Linked DNA regions of Homo sapiens: region 1 is linked to region 2. The links are contacts of gene promoters, found by promoter capture Hi-C in blood cells and fetal thymus (Javierre and others, 2016). All regions are on one chromosome and are shown on one strand. The core of a region is centred on a gene start or on the middle of the fragment in contact, and the rest is flanking DNA. Distances in the headings are between cores, read along the strand shown.

What was found. Contacts are between HindIII fragments. The CHiCAGO score rates a contact against its expected background, and 5 or more counts as called.
Region 1: a contact is called between a fragment that was not itself captured here and the fragment with the promoter of NPBWR1 in region 2, in 3 of 17 cell types (total CD8 T cells, non-activated CD4 T cells and naive CD8 T cells). The highest score is 7.8, in total CD8 T cells.

The regions. Positions count from the first base shown.
Region 1 is chr8:52,753,135-52,755,950 of GRCh38, forward strand. All of the region lies in intron 2 of LOC105375835 (a long non-coding RNA gene), which reads left to right. Among named protein-coding and RNA genes, the nearest start is that of RB1CC1, 40 kb to the left of the region's middle. The HindIII fragment of the contact is 4,878 bases long and covers 1-2,816 here.
Region 2 is chr8:52,937,757-52,940,572 of GRCh38, forward strand. It overlaps NPBWR1 (neuropeptides B and W receptor 1), which reads left to right and starts at 1,426. Exons shown (of 2, transcript NM_005285.5): 1 at 1,426-1,610; 2 at 1,955-2,816. The coding sequence starts at 2,152. RefSeq lists enhancers at 1,601-2,232, 2,233-2,816. The HindIII fragment of the contact is 12,259 bases long and covers 1-1,673 here.

The sequences.
Region 1 (2,816 bases), core at 48-2,547, 180 kb before region 2:
AGCAATTCAAGACCAGTCTAGGCAACATAGTGAGACTCCCATCTCTATAATTTTTTTTTTAATTAACTGGGCATGATGCAACATGCCTATAGTCCTAGCTGAGGCAGAAGGATCCCTTGAGCTCAGGAGTTCAACGGTGCAGTGAGCTAAGAAGGTGCCATTGCACTGCAACCAGGGTGACAGAGTGGGACCTTGTCTCTAAAATATATAAAATAGCCTGGCGCAGTGGCTCACACTTGTAATCCCAGCACTTTGGGAGGCCGAGGCAGGAGTTCGAGACCAGCCTGGCCAGCATGGTGAAACCCTGTTTCTACTAAAAATACAACAATTAGCTGGGCTTGATGGCGGGTGCTTGTAATCCCAGCTACTCGGGAAGCTGAGGCAGGAGAATCCCTTGAACCTGGGAGACGGAGGTTGCAGTGAGCCAAGATCACGCCATTACACTCCAGCCTGGGCAACAGAGCGAGACTCCATCTCAAAAAAATAAAAATAAACATAAAATAAAATATATAAAATAAAGCAAACATTTCCTTTACCACCACCCCCTTTTTATTTTTTTAGTTTCAAATAAGTTTTGCTAGGACTGGCTGGCTTAACTGTATAAGAAAAACAAAATCTCCAATAGCCTTGAATTTTTAGTAACAAATCTATCTTTTGTTTGCTGGTTTCATTGGCTTGACTAGTCACTGCAGGTAGGGAAGCATTAACAATTTTTACAGCTTTTTTAGAAAAATTTAATCTTTGATGGAATGCCATAAACAGTGAGTTTTATCTCAACATCAGCGAAAAAAATCAGCAGATTCAAAGTAGGCAGAGAAAAAAGAGTGATAGAGAACTTAGCTCTATATGGTAACTCTTATCATTGCAGGTTTTTTAGAGTTCCAATCAGGACCATTAAATCTCTGAATTTTTCTTGATGTAATTTGCCCATTGATTTTAAAATGTACACAAGAATGGGCCATAATATGTAACCAGCTGGAGTCCAGAGAACTTGGCATGCTTTAATGTTTGGGAATCCCATTCTGTTTCTTATTAATCTCTCAAGAGCTAAGACAATCCTATAAATTCTGTCAGAGAATGCCAGGAGTTTAGTTCAGTGTTTAGACAGTGGCAGCCACCCTAGTGGTAGTTTAGCCACCCTGCTCACACTATTTTTGTTTACTTTTGCTCTTGGAAGATTTTTGGATACAAGCAAGGAAGAAGAGCCAAATTACTTACAGACACATACAACCAAACCAAAATCAAAGTGCTCACAAAAATTTTAACCCAGGTTGTGCAGATCAAATAAAATGTTAAATGAGTCATGCAGAAATAATAAAAAGTAAAACAAACAAACAAACTAAACCTCGAAGGCAAATTCACCAGAAAAGACATGCCTCAGTGACAGAACATAAATTTTGTAGAAACCAGAGTACTCAAACCAGGACACTTGTCTTTATACCAAAAAAGACTTGGCAGAAGAGACAAAAAGTATTTTATTATACCAGAAGGGATGTAATGTCCTTTATTGAAGATGGCCTTATAACCAAAATAAATCCTGAATAAAGTAAAAAAAAAAAAAAAAAAACTCAAAATGAGGGAGACTTTGCCTGACAAAAGACTCACCAAAGAAGAGAAAGTAAGCTGTGGAAGCAGAGAGCTCAAATGGCTCAAGTGAGTACTGCACACTGGTTCTAAGAGTTGTTGATTCCTTCAGAAAGTGATCTTGTCCCAGGTCTGCTTCTGGGCACCATTTCAGACTACCCAAATAAACAGAGAAGGATCTCTAAAATAAATACTATTGGTTGGGCATGGTGGCTCACTCCTGTAATCCCAGCACTTTGGGAGGCCGAGGCAGGCTGATCACCTGAGGTCAGTTCGAGACCAGCCTGACCAACATGGAGAAACCCCGTCTCCACTAAAAATACAAAATTAGCTGGGCATGGTGGTGCATGCCTGTAATCCCAGCTACTCGGGAGGCCGAGGCAGGAGAATCACTTGAACCCAGGAGGCAGAGGTTGCAGTGAGCCGAGATCGCACCATTGAACTCCAGCCTGGGCAACAAGAGCGAAACTCTGTCTCAGAAAAAAAAAAAATACTATTTATTCCTGAATAGGGCATTGCAGTGGGAATATGCACATAGTTTATCATGGTTTACTATGGCACATGTATTACTATCACAATGCCATATTCCTAAATAAATACCTTTTTTTTTGAAAAAGAGAGCTCTGTTTGACATGTAGATTGACAAAAGCAATTGCAAAGAGACAGCATGACTGTGGCCTGAAAAACTTTTCTAATGCTATTGTTTAAAACTGTTTTAATGAAACCTAAAAGCATATACAGGCCGGGTGCGGTGGCTCATGCCTGTAATCCCAGCACTTTGGGAGGCTGAGGCAGGCAGATCACTTGAGCCCAGGAGTTCAAGACCAGCCTGGCCAACATGATGAAACCCCGTCTACTAAAAATAGAAAAATTAGCCAGGCATGGTGGCACCCACCTGTAATCTCAGCTACTCAGGAGGGTGAGGCAGGAGATTTGCTTCAACCTGGGAGGCGGAGGTTGCAGTGAGCCAAGATCGCTCCACTGCACTCCAGCCTGGGTGATACAGTAAGACTCCGTCTCAAAAAACAAACAAACAAACAAACACCAAAAAACATATACAAAAATAAAGCGAAAACTACAATGTATAGCCATATATCCCTGACCCTGACCCTAGTTCCACAATTATCAAGATTTTGCACCCATTTGCCTCTAGCCTTTTTTTTTTTTGCTGAAGTATTTTAAAGTGAATCCTAGTGTTACAGCATGATACCCCTACATACCTCAACATGCAT
Region 2 (2,816 bases), core at 176-2,675:
CGTTTCCCTGCTGTCTACAATATCCACCTGTTAGTCACTTCACAATCTGGGTTATTAGATGACTGTGGCAATGACCAGTGTGGTGTCTTCAAGTTGCCTTGATTTTACTGACTTTTTGCCCTTATTTCTCTCTGGCTCCAAAGTGCAAGAGAAGTGATGCTGGCAATTCAGATATGCCAAAGAGAAGCTGCAAATGCCTCCTTTAAGTTAAAAGGTAAAAATTCTGGACTTAATAAGGAAAGAAAAAAAATCATATGCAGAGGTTGCCAAGATCTACTAAAAACAAATCTATCCACGAAAATGTGAAGAAGAAAAAAGAAATGCATGCTAGTTTTGCTGTTGCATCATTTTTGGATGGAAGAACAGAAACATGTTCCCATTGACCGCAATGGGTACTATCCATGGTTTCAGGCATCCACTGGGGCTCTTGGAACCTATCCCCCATAGGTATGGGGGGGCTACTGTATTTCTGGCCCCACAGTCTTCTACTGCCGACTTTAGGTCTCTCTGGATCTCAGGCCCCCTTCTCTAAGATGCATCCTAGAGGACCAAAAATACACTTTATTTGGGCTTCGCCTGCTTTTGTGGAAGGGTAGTTTACTAGAGGATATAATCTCGTGTTTTAATTTGCTCTCTCTCCTAAAGGAAATGTGGAGAAAAAAAAAAAGCAGAAATTGGAAATAACCAATATTTAGTTTATTTCATTCGATTCTTAGGGGAACTGGTGAGGAGCCTAAGATGATTTTCCCTTCCTAGAGAAAGAATCCAAAGTCCAGGGAAATAGCGACAGGGGAGTTCAAGACTGCCCCTGCTAGTCCTTCCTTGGCTACTCTCCGCTGCGATCGCAGGATAGCTCTCATTAGCAGGAGAATCGGGCAAGTGTGTGGATAAGTAGAGAGTGTGTTGAACAACTTGTAACGTTTTATGAAATACGCATTGTCATGGTTCCCTAAAAGGCTTTGCGGAAGCCGTTTGTCTTTACTAATCAAGTCTTTACTTACACAAAAGTAGAAGTAGAAGTAGTTTTAGAAAACATACTAACAATCTTCTATCCCCTTGAAGACCAGAGTAGCAGAAAACAGGTGATTTGCATTATAAAATTGCACTCACTTTTTCCTCCTTTCAGATTTCACATTACATTAGCCTATTTGTGTTACGGTGTATAAAAAATGGAACAGGCGCCTCCACTACATTGTTCTCCTTTAAAAATAGATCACTTACACCCTAACTTTGTTTTCCTTAAATTCGATTCTTAACAGGAGAGCTTTCTATTATTTCAGATGGAGTGAGGTTGCACGACTGGGATGGAAGAAAGGAATCCCTTAAATTTGGGGGAATTTCTGTTCTCTGTTCTAAGACCATTTTACTTGGGGTGTGGGGGTGGGCGCGGCGGTCAGGGCAGTGGAACGCAGTCGCGGCTGCGCCATCCCTGCACTTCCAGGCGCGCGGGAGGGACCGGCGGGGACGCGAGCTGCGGACTCTGGCGAACTCGGGGGAGGCAGACAGGGGGAGGCGGACACCCAGCCGGCAGGCGTCTCAGCCTCCCCGCAGCCGGCGGGCTTTTCTCCTGACAGCTCCAGGAAAGGCAGACCCCTTCCCCAGCCAGCCAGGTAAGGTAAAGACTGCTGTTGAGCTTGCTGTTACTGAGGGCGCACAGACCCTGGGGAGACCGAAGCTTGCCACTGCGGGATTCTGTGGGGTAACCTGGGTCTACGGAAGTTTCCTGAAAGAGGGGAGAAGGGTTTGCATTTTTCCTATGGAGGATTCTTCTCTCTCTAGCATTTCGTTTGATGTATTCAACTGGTAGAAGTGAGATTTCAACAGGTAGCAGAGAGCGCTCACGTGGAGGAGGTTTGGGGCGCCGCGGCGCCACCCCCACCCCTCCTCGGGACCGCGCCTATTTCTAAAGTTACACGTCGACGAACTAACCTATGCTTTAAATTCCTCTTTCCAGCCCCGTGAGTCCGCGGCGACATTGGGCCGTGGGGTGGCTGGGAACGGTCCCCTCCTCCGGAAAAACCAGAGAACGGCTTGGAGAGCTGAAACGAGCGTCCGCGAGCAGGTCCGTGCAGAACCGGGCTTCAGGACCGCTGAGCTCCGTAGGGCGTCCTTGGGGGACGCCAGGTCGCCGGCTCCTCTGCCCTCGTTGAGATGGACAACGCCTCGTTCTCGGAGCCCTGGCCCGCCAACGCATCGGGCCCGGACCCGGCGCTGAGCTGCTCCAACGCGTCGACTCTGGCGCCGCTGCCGGCGCCGCTGGCGGTGGCTGTACCAGTTGTCTACGCGGTGATCTGCGCCGTGGGTCTGGCGGGCAACTCCGCCGTGCTGTACGTGTTGCTGCGGGCGCCCCGCATGAAGACCGTCACCAACCTGTTCATCCTCAACCTGGCCATCGCCGACGAGCTCTTCACGCTGGTGCTGCCCATCAACATCGCCGACTTCCTGCTGCGGCAGTGGCCCTTCGGGGAGCTCATGTGCAAGCTCATCGTGGCTATCGACCAGTACAACACCTTCTCCAGCCTCTACTTCCTCACCGTCATGAGCGCCGACCGCTACCTGGTGGTGTTGGCCACTGCGGAGTCGCGCCGGGTGGCCGGCCGCACCTACAGCGCCGCGCGCGCGGTGAGCCTGGCCGTGTGGGGGATCGTCACACTCGTCGTGCTGCCCTTCGCAGTCTTCGCCCGGCTAGACGACGAGCAGGGCCGGCGCCAGTGCGTGCTAGTCTTTCCGCAGCCCGAGGCCTTCTGGTGGCGCGCGAGCCGCCTCTACACGCTCGTGCTGGGCTTCGCCATCCCCGTGTCCACCATCTGTGTCCT